2 separate regions of the Homo sapiens genome follow, and region 2 is linked to region 1. The links are contacts of gene promoters, found by promoter capture Hi-C in human tissues and cell types (Jung and others, 2019). All regions are on one chromosome and are shown on one strand. Each heading gives the region's core, a stretch centred on a gene start or on the middle of the fragment in contact. The rest is flanking DNA. Distances are from core to core; before and after follow the strand shown. Region 1 holds the start of C3orf36 (chromosome 3 putative open reading frame 36). Region 2 holds the start of TF (transferrin).

The links. Contacts are between HindIII fragments. The study calls those that stand out against the background at their distance.
Region 2: a contact is called between the fragment with the promoter of TF here and the fragment with the promoter of C3orf36 in region 1, in 1 of the 25 tissues and cell types used here (psoas muscle).

What each region holds. Positions count from the first base shown.
Region 1 is chr3:133,927,283-133,933,917 of GRCh38, reverse strand. It overlaps C3orf36 (chromosome 3 putative open reading frame 36), which reads left to right and starts at 4,106. Exons shown (of 1, transcript NR_161373.1): 1 at 4,106-5,773. It overlaps SLCO2A1 (solute carrier organic anion transporter family member 2A1), which reads left to right. Exons shown (of 14, transcript NM_005630.3): 14 at 1-1,217. RefSeq lists a silencer at 5,948-6,477. The HindIII fragment of the contact is 10,560 bases long and covers 2,173-6,635 here.
Region 2 is chr3:133,742,659-133,749,325 of GRCh38, reverse strand. TF (transferrin) reads right to left here and starts at 2,933. Exons shown (of 17, transcript NM_001063.4): 1 at 2,843-2,933; 2 at 742-914. The coding sequence starts at 2,885. The HindIII fragment of the contact is 10,529 bases long and covers 1-4,080 here.

The sequences.
Region 1 (6,635 bases), core at 2,857-5,356:
ACCCAAGGAAGGCCTATGAAAAGGTCCTGATGCCCAACCTCCCACCCCTTCAATGTGGGGACGAGACCCCCTCATCTCAGAGTAATGGGAAGAACCTCCCACATCTCCCTGGCAGCAGATGAGGTGGCTTCACATGCACTTCCCTGTCTGGACTTCAGCCCGTATTCCGAGGAGTAGAGAGGCAGAAGAGATGTCAGCAAAGCAAGTGATGAAGCAGAGTGGATGTCCACTGTCACCAAGCTGGATGGCAAGCTGCGGCCCACAAAACAGCCAGTCAGGTTGGCTTTCCTGGTTTCAGACATGCTCATACCATTCCCATTTTCTCAGCCTCTTCTCACTGCCTCCAGAGAGGTGGGTGCCTGGGTTGAGAGACACAGCTGCTACGTGATAGATGTTGAGAGACAGAAGCCAACGAAGGAGGTCATTCATCAACAAATATATTTATTGGAGACCGACTTTGTGCAAAGCAATGCTAATCAGGGTTCTCCATGGAGCTTCCCTCAGCTCTTACCTCACCTCCCTCCATTTACATTAGGGCCTTCTCCCAGGGTGTGCTCGGTGGGCAGTGTGGGACTGGGGGTGTGGGAGTTGGTGAGAGCAGGAGGAGAGGTGGGGACAGCAAGAAGCCACAGATTGGCATGAAGGATCCTGACCTGACTATCCATGCCATCCATGGCCCCCAGACTGACTCTGCACCTGGCCCTTTGCCAGACAGCTCTGTCTCCCCATGTCCTCTGGAACAGCTGGGCATGGGTCATGGCCATTCATGACCCTTAAGTGCCACCCTTCTTGGAAGACCCCCTCCAGAAGCATACTGGAAGCCACCTCTGGAAAAGCCTCATATGGTGATATGCCAAAATATTTATGTCAATGTCCAAACAAAGTCCAATGCCATGAGACTGAAGTCTTTGTGGAAACCACTGTTACAGACAAGCTTATTTCCAAAGCCACCTCATTTCCAAACATCTCACTCAGGAAGGGAGGCTCAATGTAACCTCAGGGGCCAGTTTTAGCATTTGAAATGGTTCTGCTTGGAAAATGATGCCCTGCAACTAACCCTGGTCTTTCCCATGGCAATTTAACCACATTTGGAAGGCACTGCCTTCAGCTGAGTTTATGAACAATGAATGCCAACCTTCAGGTTCTAGAAGATTGGTTGCACTCCCAAACCTTTATTCTATTATATTACTATTAAAATATTCTAATTTTGCTATTGAGGTAACTTGGTCATGAATTTATGTTGTCATATACATCTGTCAGAGAACAGACAGCACCTGCACTTTTTAATTTTATTTTATTTTTATTTGTATTTTATTTTTGAGATGGAGTCTTGCTCTGTCACCCAGGCTGGAGTGCAGTGGCACAATCTTGGCTCACTGCAACCTCTGCCTCCTTGGTTCAAGCGATTCTCCTGCCTCAGCCTCCAGAGTAACTGGGATTACAGGCCTGCGCCACCACACCTGGCTAATTTTTGTACTTTTAGTAGAGACAGGGTTTCACCATGTTGGCCAGGCTGGTCTCAAACTCCTGACCTCAAGTGATCCTCCCGCCTCAGCCTCCCAAAGTGTTGGGATTACAGGCATGAGCCACTGCGCCCTGCCGGCACCTGCATCTTGTAAACAGAGGAAGTGCTCATGACATAGACCCCAGGGGCCCATGGCCATGGAGATTAGAGGTAATGCAACTGTCAACCCATTAGCCTGGTATCAGGCAAGTACCAGACACTGCTTATTCCTTCAGTGAAGTTCTGCTGGGCTCTGAGAAGGCCGCATCACTGCTCTTGGGTTTATATCCAGAAGCGGAGCTGGACGCAAACAGCTATGTCCATGGCACAAAACAGAATTAATATCATAATCAAATTGATCACATGGTCACAACCAGTACTACTACTCCCAAGAAAATCTTTCTTTTCAGCTGTCAGCAGGGAATATAATAGTGTCACTTTCATTTCACTTCTAGAGCAAAGCTTAACAAACTTTCTTGAGTGTGTGACACTCACAGAGGATGCAAATTCCCAACACCCTCCACCCAGCCCCAGCGTCTACTTCTGTGGGTCTAATGGGGACCCAGGAATGGCTCTTTTAACGGCCCCCTCATGAGATTGATGTGGGTAGTTCCCAAATCCTGTGAGGTGGGCTGTCAGTGCAATAGAGCCTGGGGTATGCCCATTTGTGCTTAGGCCACTGAGAAATTTACAGGCTCGATAGGCCTTTGGTATGTTCAAAGGTGAGTGAAGGATAACAAGGTGAAGAGATGCCTGTGAATCTGATTTTTTGGATGGCTGCAACTAAGAGTCAATGGGCATGAAAAACAATCCAAGAGCTCACATTTATATGAGGCCCTTATCAGTACTGAGAGAGACATTCTCACTTCACAAGCTTGGATGTGCAAAAAGAAAAAAATCACTTATTTCTTTAAATCAGTTATTGATTTCAAACCCCCCATCCTACTGTCTGGCTGGAAATTCAATATCAACCATGCTTGGGTCTGGCTCCTAGAGCCATCTGAAGGTCCTTGGATGCCTACGCATTCAAGGGTGCCATTGTGGGTCTTTGGTCCCTTTCCCATTTGAGGCTGTTTAATGGCCCTGCTTCTCACCTGAGCCTGGAAACCCTACAAAGCCGAGACCCCAGGGTTAGGCCCACCTCCCTGTGCACACTCGCGGCTATGCCCTCTCCCGGCCCCAGTCCTAGGAAGCCCACTCCTCTGCACCACTCCCTCTCCCTACAGAATCCCGCTCCTCAAGGGCTGAACAAAAAAGCCGGAAAAGGAAGAGTGTGCAGGAACCTTTTTTATTCAATCCTTCTTTTACCCTTCTTGGAAAAAGCGCAAATACAGTGATAACTAAATACCGTATCTCTATCAATTATCCTTTGGCCCAAAGCCCTTTGGGGTGATCCTCCATGATGGATGCCCCATGTAAAGGTGAGGAATCTGATCCCGAGGAAGCAACCATTGTGGCCAATTTCACATAGATAATAGCTGGCCAGGTCTAGACTCAAACCAGGCTGTCCACTTCTCTCTGGTCCAGCCCAATTGCCCCAGCTGAGTCATTCTGAAGAGTCAGCATGGACTAAAATGGTGGGGAGGCCCCTCTTTTCCCACTGATGTTCACTGGCCCATGGGAGGGAAGTGGGGGAATCTCTTGAGGGCCATTAAGGTGGGTAACAAAGGCAAAAGAACCAGGTAACAGTTCATTTACTTACCTTCTATTCAACTAGCAACAACATCACAACTATTCATTAAACAGGGCCAATTTATCCCTATAGCACCATGAGTTAAAGAGAGTTGTGGAGAAAAGAGACAAAGAGGGAAGGGTTTTGAGAAGAAAAGGCCCTGAGAATCCTGCACACAGACCTTCAAGGGAACAGCTCCATCTGGTGACTGCTTAGCAGATTCTTGCTCAAGAAACAAAGCCATATTGTGATTTTATTCAACCACTCTCAAAGATGGAGAGATACAGTTAAGCTGGAGGCTGAAGCCAGTCAGTATCAAATTGATACTAAAATATTATATTGCAGCAAATCCAGAAGAAATACATCCTATCTTTCGCAACCACAGGAAGTAAATACCTGGAAGAAAGGTCCATCTCCTGCCAGTAGCACCAGACACCAGATTCATTATAACCTTTCATCAGAGATTAAATATGGAAACAGATCCTGGAAAAGCCCTTGGCAAATCATAAATGAGAGGAAGTTTTTCTCCATGGCATACCCTGGCCATTCCTCCACTCTCCAGCCACATCATGTCTCCAGCCCTGCTACAACTTGACAGCAATAATAATAACTAAAATGTGCACAGATCTTTACAGTTTACCAAGCCATTAACCCATTTAAAACACTTCTTTAATCAGTAAATCAGTGGGGAAAGGCTTGGCTATGCTGTGGTAACAAACCTCTCGAATCTTAGTCACTTGACACAACAAAAGATGGTATCTCGCTCACAGAACCTGTGGTGATCTGGGTGACTCTCAGGTCAGTGGCTCAGTAGTGCCCCTCTGCCTGCTCAGGGCCTGGAGGATTGGCCTGAGAGCCCCCCCAACCAGTGTCTCAGTAACTCAGACTGTTTGGAACCTGAGGTACCTCCATTTCATTATAAGCTGCCATGATGGATGGGGCAGGGGAAGAAAGTCCTGGAAGATCCCGCACTGCTAAGCAATGCTTTGTCCCAAAGTAACGCTCTTCACTCTGCTCCCAGCCTAGCTGCCGCAAGAGCGGAACAGAATATTCTGTGTGCTCAGGAGAAGAAAAGAGCAGATATGGTTGAGCACTAAAACCCTCTACTGTGGGTAGTGAACCTAGGTGGACACAGTTGCTCACCGGGACACTTAAACCAGCTTTGCGGGGCTGTCGGGGTTGGGAAGCACAGTCTGGAAAGATTTCCCAATGGAGGAAGCACCAATTGTGGGTCCCTGAAGCTGAGGGGATGATGCCCAGGCAAGGCCGAGGCAGTCTGCAGAGGGCTGGGGAGGTGGGAAAGACGATTTTGCTCAGAGGAGGCAGAGATGGGGTGGTGGCTGAGAGAGATGCAGGGTCAAGGAAAGGATGGCTTCAGAGAGGAGAGATTTGCTGGGGCAAAAGGCCACAGGATGGGGAGGCTGCGGGGTCCAAGAGGACAGCTGATGGAGCGAGACCCTGCAGGCAAGGAGGAGATGGGGTGACTCATGGCAGAATCGCACCAGAGTTCCCACAGCCCTGTGCGGCCACTATGACTAGTCCCATCCTGTACATGGAGAAAACGAGGCTCCTTCCAGTTGTCCCTCACGCCTCCCTTGATTTATGTACTACCTGATGTGTATAAGGACAGGTGGTGACAAACACATGGTCCCTACCCTTCAAGGACATATAATCCAGAGCTAAGACAAGACCTTAACACAGGGCAAAGTACTATGCTCTGAGTTCATTTGATGAGCGATGGGAGAACGGGCTTGATCCTAGCCATGCGGGAGAGACTGGAATTCAAGAGAGTCAAATGTGCTGGGAAAGACTTTCTGGGCAAAAGGAATAAGCAAAGGTGTGCAAAGGTAAGGAAGCAGGAAACCTTTGCACATCTTGAGAACTCGCCGGCCAGAGGCCTGTGAAGGAGCGCAGTGGTCAGGCAGGAGAGGCAGTCGGATGCAGGCTGAGACCATCCTGGAGGGTCTTGAGGCTGGCTTACCCCAGGCTGTGAGTAGTGGGCTCAGCCTAGTCCCGGCTCCTGGGTTAGTGCTCACGTGTCTCTCTGCCCCCTCAGGGCCTGGAGGAATGGCCTTAGAGCCCCCACCAACCACGCTCAGGAAGGCATTCCTAGCTCAGAGTACCCTCCTGGAGTCTACACTGGAAGGGGCTCCTGAGTGGGCCGCGCCACACCCCGAGGAGCAGAGGCGCAGTCCTCCCGCGTGCTCCCAGCACACTCCACCCCTACCCAGCACACCCACGGGGCCCCCACCTTGCTCACCTGGGGGGAACCACCCACTCTGCGCCCTCTCAGGGAGAGGTGGTGGCCGCTGCTCTATCCCCTCCCTCTCTTCCTCTTCCACCTTCTCTCTCTTCTCATCTGGGTGCTGGAACCCAAGGGTGAAACTGAGAGTCAGAAAGTCTCAGTCTCAAGGCAGAGCGGGGCAACTAATTTAAAACGGCTTCTACTCCGGCCCCCAGTGTGACTAATCTCCTTCTCTTCGCTCCACAGGTCTATAAATGGGCCACAGTAGGCACCCCTTTTTAAATCTGTAAAATCCCCAAATCCATTAAAAGTGACTTCAGAGGTCCCAGATAGGGACCAACATTTGTTTAAACCTTTTCCTCATTACATCTCATGACCGCCAGCTTACAAAAGAGAGACTGGGGGTTCTGGATGAGACGTATGCAATCCCTGAGTCCACCTTGGAAAGGACAGAGGCAGGTGTCACACCGTTCCTCTTTGACCCGAATCGCTTGAATCCCAGAGTTTCAACAGCTCAGGTGGGTTGAAGGCTCAGAATGTACCAGACATCCGAAGCGCTTTACATACATTTGCTCCTTGAATCTTCACGACAGCCCTGTGAGATGCAATAATCATGCCATTCCACAGACGAGGAAACGGGCCCAGGGGACTGCGGTCTCGGCTCCTTTCCTCTGGCTTTCTCAGAAAAGGCGCGGAGGCCCCCGCCGGGTGGGCGAGGCGGGGTGGGCGGCCCCTTGCGCCCTGGAGTCGCATTCCGCCACCAGGGGGCGCCGCCCCTCCGCCGCGGCCCGGGGAAGCCACCCGCGGAGGCGCCACGCCCAGCCCGCCCACGGGACGCCCCCGCGGCCCCACAGCCAGCCGGGCGGGACTCCACCACCCGGCTCAGCGCGCCTCCGATAGCCCGCTTCCCCGCCGGGGCGCCCTCGGGCCTGCGGGGCTCCCCGCGCCCACCGCACGCACGCACGCACGCCTTCCCCTACTCGGAGGGCCCGGCGGCTGAGCCCACCGGCGCCTGCTCACGGGACACAGCCTCGAGAAAACTTCCTCTCTGACTGCCCGCGATAAAGCACCGTTTAGTCTATTTATGTTTTCTGCACGAAAGTGTATTAAACACGTTAGAGAACAAGAGGAGTAGAGAGTAAGGTGCCACGAGGCACCGAGAGGGCCCGCGGGAACACACGGCTTCCTCAGGCTCTCTGACCGGCCGTGAGCAG
Region 2 (6,667 bases), core at 1,684-4,183, 180 kb after region 1:
TTTTTGTAGACCTAAGAACAAAAAGATCAGCTGTCACCTGCAATCAGGACACTTTACTCTTCCCCCTGCATGCATCACTCATCTTCCCAGTTGTGTATCAAAAGCTGCCAAAGAAGGTTATATAATAATTTTGATAGTGGGCATTCTTATTTATTTATTTATTTTGAGATGGAGCCTCACTCTGTCACCTAGGCTGGAGTGCAGTGGCAGGATCTTGGCTCACTGCAACCTCTGCCTCCCCGGTTCAAGTGATTCTCCTGCCTCAGCCTCCCAAGTAGCTGGGATTACAGGCATGCACCACCATGCCCAGCTAATTTTTATATTTTTTAGTAGAGATGGGGTTTCGCCATGTTGGCCAGGCTGGTCTCGAACTCCTGACCTCAGGTGATCCACCTGCCTCAGCCTCCCAAAGTGCTAGGATTTCAGGCATGAGCCACCGCGCCCAGCCTGATAGCAGGCATTCTTATATTTTCGCCAAGTTCAGAGAACCTAGGGTCTCAAAACAGTCACCCTTGCGTCTACTGTGTCTGGAAAGCAAAAGTTAATGTGCTTTTTGACTTTTGCTTTCCAGACACATTAAAGAAAACCTCCCCATTTCCACTTTTGAAGTGATTTTAGTAAGTCAAGGTTGACTGCCCCATATATCAGCCTCCTACCTGTGAGTAAAGAATTGTTCCAAAGTGACTGGAAACAGAGAAAGTATGGCTTTCTTCCACTCTCTTTTAGGCAGCAGCGACTTACCGCAATGGCCCTGATGCAATCAAGGTAGGAGGCTTTCTTCACACAAGCAACACTGGGACCATCGGATGGAATGACGCTTTTCATATGGTCGCGGAAACTCTGGCACTTAGTGGCCTCATGCTCCGACACTGCACACCATCTCACAGTTTTATCAGGGACAGCCAGACACAGCCCTGGGGGAGAGAGGCCAGAGGTGGAAGGGCCCACTCCCTATGCTGAGGGAGAGACAGCATCGCCCCTAGAAAGGCCTTGACAGCCACATCCCCTCAGTCCTGTCCTCCTCTCACTCCTGTCCATGAACACTACAGGGCACAAGTTCTACTGCATTCTGAGTCTGAGCCAATAGAAGGTTGCCCTAATGGCCTCCCAGTTTCCTACTGACCACCCTCTGCTGGCCAGAGGGGTGCAGGCATGGCCATCACCTCCCAGCTGGAGATGACAATCTGCTCCTCTGTATCCGCCTTGTCTCCTCCCATCACTGTCCTGGCCCCTGGCCCCCCATGGAACATAAGCCTCAGTATGCACAGGGCGTTTTCAGCTACCCCAACACATTGGCTTGCTACCTCAACTATGGAAAACCAGCGGGGGAGGAATTGCCATCTTTTTGAGAAGAGGGAGTGAGACTCAGAGAATGATGCCTTTTTTTTTTTTTAACCCAAGGTCACCCTGCTTGTCGTTGGCCAAGCCAGGCCTAGAATCTGGGTCTCCAGACTCTGGGTCTGCTACTCAGGGCACAAAAGAAGAAAACATTCTGAGTTACACCCCTTCTTGGCCAGTAGTTGAGGGTAAATTAACGAAAAGAATTAATTTGTCTGTAACTCTTGTCTGTTGCTCTCTGTTTAGGAAGAACTAAAAACTCCACAAATTCAACAGTCTCCCCTCTGTCTCCACTGAACTATCCCTCCATTTTCACCACACTTTTTGGCTGCCATTCACAAAAAAAGCTGAAGCCAGCCATGGGTAACTATTAAAATCCATGTGGTTGCAGAGACAGCATCCCTATCACATGAGCTTTTGCCCTGTCCCCAAGGCCCTCTGTCATCTCCACTCCTTGTGGGCCACCACAGCAAGGCTGACTCACTGGCTCTGAAGAAGATCCACAAAGCCTGTGGAGAGGAGGCCCACAGCTCTCCAGGATGCATGAGGAGGGGCCACCAGGGATGGCCACCCCAGCGACCCCCATTTTCCCTCTTGGCCCATGGGAAATCCTAGGAGGCAACATAAGCCTGTGGCAGCCCCTCCACAAAGCCCTGCCTCCAGAGTTCCCATAGGCGAGAATGTGTCCTCAGTGGAGCATTACCTTGCACAGCCTGTGAAGTGCTCTGTGCGGGGATAAAGGCAAGTAACGTGGGGTCCTCTCTCAAGGAATTGCTAGCTTATGGGGAGAGAAAACTAAACGTGGAAGCCCCAACAGTGTGACAAATGCCCCATGAATGGCAGGCAGAAGTTAGAGTATGAAGGGGGCCCCACCTCAGGAGGTCGGGGAGTGTGGCGTCAGCCACTGCCCCATAGCAGGATGTGTGCAACATCTGCCACTGGTACTCAGCATCTGCCACCTCGCTGACCCTCATTTGACCCTCCCAGGCAAGTGCTGTGATGACCCCCTCCCTGGTGAGGAGCCGGCCAGGACTTGGATCCAAGAAGTCTGGCTTCAAACCCCATGCTCTGACCGCTCGATGGCACCGCTTCCTTGGCAGGACATCTACAGCTCCCAGGGCACCCAGGGGACATCAGCCTCTGAAAGGGGAATGGTCAGACCCGGGAGGCCTTGAATGCCATGCTAAGGAGTTCGGACTTGACAAGAGGCAGCAGCAAAGGGTTTTGATAACCTGGTTAGACGTGCTCTGATTTATTGTATTTCACTGCTGCAAGATTTACTGGACAAAGAGGAGGAGGGGGAGAAGACAGTGAGTGCAGTGAAAGGTGTCTAGAAGCCCAAGCAAAGGCCAGGGGTGGGGCGTAGAGAGGCAATGGAAAGGCACCCAGACACCCAGGCTTCCAGCCTGAGCGCGGAGTGCATGCAGGCTGCGCGGTGGCCGCCCGGGTTGCAGGGAACGCGCGGGCCAGCGACTCTGCGGTGCTACCCCGTGCCCGCACTCACCCAGGACGGCGCAGACCAGCAGGGCTCCCACGGCGAGCCTCATCTTCCGGGTGCGGCGCTGAGCAGCGAGCACAGTCGGACTCGCTTCTGTGCAGCCTCCGGCGCCCCGCGTCCCTTTATTCCATTCCCGGCCTGGGCGGGCTGGGCGCAATCTTTGACCTCCCGTGTTTGTGCAGCCGGGTTGCCCAATCGCCCCTCTCCCAACCCCCCTTCCTTACTCGTCCCACTGATCACCTCATTTTCTGAGCTCTGGAGACGACCCGCGAGTGGAAGGAGTCCAGCACAGAAATGTTGATGGGAAGGGACATGAAGCACAATGCAGCCATTGTCATCGCGGCTCGCTCGGTGCCAGGAGCGGCTACGGCGGGCTGGGAGCCGGGGGGCTCTGCTCCTGACTCCAGGGCTGCAGAGCTGGTCCGTGCCACCAGTCCTATCTGCGCAGTCCACAGAGGAAGACTCCGAGGCTGGAGAGGGAAAAGAACTGCGCCCAGACCCCACACTAGAACTGCAGAATGACAGGCAAAGCCCCTTTTGGGGGAGGATGCAGGAGAAACAAGCTGGGCTCAAGGTCAAAGACAGACTCAGCACCTTTTGCTCCCCACCAGGTGTCCCTCGAAATCCTGCTCCTGGGCTCTCAAAGGTCCCCCACGGAGGAGCTGCTCCCTCTTCCTGCCCCGCTGAGCTCAGGCTCCTGGGCTGGAAAACTTCCCGCCCTCAAGCTTCCTGTGGGACACCTTAGACTAGGGACAGAGTCATAGGGGAAGATGAACTCCCTCCAACAAGAAGGTTCCAGGAACATGGTCAAGACACTGTGAGGCTCAGAACAAAGTGTCATCTTAGCACAAAGCAAGCGGCCCAGTGGACGGTGTGGCCTGTTCTTACAGCCTGGGGCCACCATGTCCCCCTCTAGTCGATGAGTCTCCTAACCAGTTTAATTACACATCCTTATCATGAAAAATATTGAACTTGTGCCTTCTATATGCTTATATTTTAACTAAAAAATGTGTACACTTCAATCATGCACAAGGAATAGAAATTTGTAAAAGGATGAGCTAAAGATGAAACTCATTTTCAAATGTCGTTTTGCTTATGCGGCCTTATACAGGATTATTATCTCAAGGCATAATATACTTGGGGAAAGGTCAAGATTCCTTCCACGAAGTGTAAATCCAGACTTCAGAGATTTTGCCAAAAGTTACTTCTTATCCAACCTGACCAGATGGTCATTCATTCTGTCTCATGTTTTAGTTGACCAAGCTCATATCAAGCCTAGTGGACACGTCAGGTCAGTCATTTGATTTTTGTTCACTTGTTTTTGTGTTGTCAGAATTGTCTCCTAATTCTAGTTTCTTTGTAAGAATCTTTTTAAGGCATGTGTGCATCTCGTGAAGGTTGGAGTTAAAGCCAGATTATCTAATCTGTACATCCGTTTAACTGGGCACATACAAACCACAAAGTATGGAAATAAAAATGCCAAAACAAAGGGCAGGGTCGGCACTCCCCTTTTCACCTTTAGCATTGTGAGGTGAACCCCATCTTCCCTTAGGACACCTGAAAGGCTCCATCTGTCATGACTGCAGACTCAGGTGGGAGATAGGGCCAATTCACACATTCAATATGAATGAATGATAATTTGTTAATCTTTTGCAATAACAATAAATATAACTGGAAGTTAGATTATGTTCTCCCACACTCCAAAAGATTATCTCATATGCAAAGGGGTTACATACCTCCCACTTTAGAGTCCACTACAGAAGCTTTCTGTTTACAGTGAGGACAGAAGTCAAGTCTGGCTTTCCCAACACATCAGCCTCACCAGCGAGGGAGAGTGACCACTGCTGCCCTGTCTTACTCCCCCCTTGCCCGTCCACGGGCCCCTTGTGCTTGAGCCATAGGGAAAGAAGACTGTTAGCATGAGGGCCATATTCCTACTGCCCCTGCAGCAGGCTCTAGGCAGTGGTCTGGATTCATTTGGAGACCTTGAGGTAAGGATGTGAGATGAGCAGGAAAAGTCAGGGGCAAGGCTAACTGGAAGGCACCCAGCAGAGCAGCATGCACACATACAGCTGATGCATGGACAGGCCCTGTAGTAAGCTTGCAGGGTCTGCCAGAGAGCAGGAAGTGCAGTTACGAAAGGTTGAGCCCATGCCACAAACTCAGGGAAGCTCAACGCAGGGCATGGAAAGAAGATGGTCAGTGATTCTCCTTTTCTGGAGCCCATCTACATTCGTAGACTAAGCCCCGCTGAGGCCAGTCCTCCAGCCACAGGCCCATAGCCTAGCCAGAGCCCCTCAGCAGGGAGCAACTACCTACTGGCCAGGCTGAGTCCTCTCCAGAGCAGCCAGCTCTATGCCCTGTCCTCAGAAGGGTCCTTTGAGTCCAAGCCCAAGACAGGTGCTGGGAAGGAAATATACAGCCTCATGGGATATGAAGGAAGCTCAGACAAGACATAGAGAACTGGTGCTCCCACGTCATCTACACACACCTAGATGGAGAGGCCAGGGCCTTGGCTTTTGCTCAAGAGGACAACAGCAGAGCTTCGTGCTTGCCATTCCTTGGATGGGGTAGGCAGGGGTGAGGCCAGCTTTGGGGTGTACATGTGTGCATGGCCCTAGCTGTATGGGGTGCCTATGCCTGTATATGTCTATAGGAGCATGTGAAGGTAAGAGGTTAACATTACAGCGCTCCATGTCCATGACACTTGTACCTGTGCTCTCATTTATATTCTTTAATTCTATACCAGAGATGTTCTGGAGTTGGAGAATCACTGTCCCTTTTAATAGCTTAATGATGGCTGAGATTTACTGGGAGCTTCACTGAGCACTTACCATACCCCTCTGACTTTGGTGCTTTAGCATCTGTATCTTACAGATGAGACAAGGAAACTGAGGACAAGAGAGGATGATATCTTGTTCAAGGTCAGCTGCAAAGTCAGAATACAAAAGAAGGCAGTCTGGTTCCAGAGTGTACACATCCACCAGGGACACTGCCTCTCCCAGGAAACCAGGACATGCAGGGGCCAAGGAGCTCATCTGGGGTCACACCGAGAGAGGGACAGACATGAGACTCCCAGCCTTGCCATTTCTCCAAAAGCACACAGCCCCCAGGGCTTTGCCAGCACAGGGGCTGGTCAGTCTGGGAGAGGTCTGAGTACCAACTGCAGATCCTTAGACATGGACTGGCTTGATTATGCTCAGCTGGAAGAAAATATCATGTTTTTATCCCCTTGTATGTGTCAGGCACTGTCCTGGGGCAAGATCATTGGGGCAGCCATGCAAGATAAGATCAGTACCTCCATTTATCACATGTGGTCATTACAGTCAAATGATGGGTCCTTATTCATGGAGCTCTGAGACCTGAACTCAAACTTCCTAAATCTTGCCCTTCTCCAGACCACAGCTGCCTTCTTGATATTGACCTTCTCTTTATTTATTTAGTGGGGGAGGAAAGAGAGGGAGGGAGGTGAGAGAGAAAGAGAAAGAGAAAGAGATTGATAGAGGACATAAAGGAAGCTTCCAGTTCTAGACCAACCCAAGCATGAGCCAAATCTTTCACCGCAAACAGGGCAAAACTCTCAAATTTCAACCACGAGTTGGCCCTTAAAGAAATAGCTGCGCTTGTGTGTACGTGCAGGAAAGCTGGAAAAGCTGACCAGCAGGAGGTGGGTAAGAAAGCAGTGGGCCTCTGAACCAATATTTGTTGTTTCCAAATGTTGCCCAGTTGACACAGAAGCAAAGCAAACAAAGAGCCTCTGTCTGTTTTGAGCAGTTCCTCCTGTCCCCCACCCAGTGTCCTCTGCCTGACACCAGAGACTTCTCTAAGTCT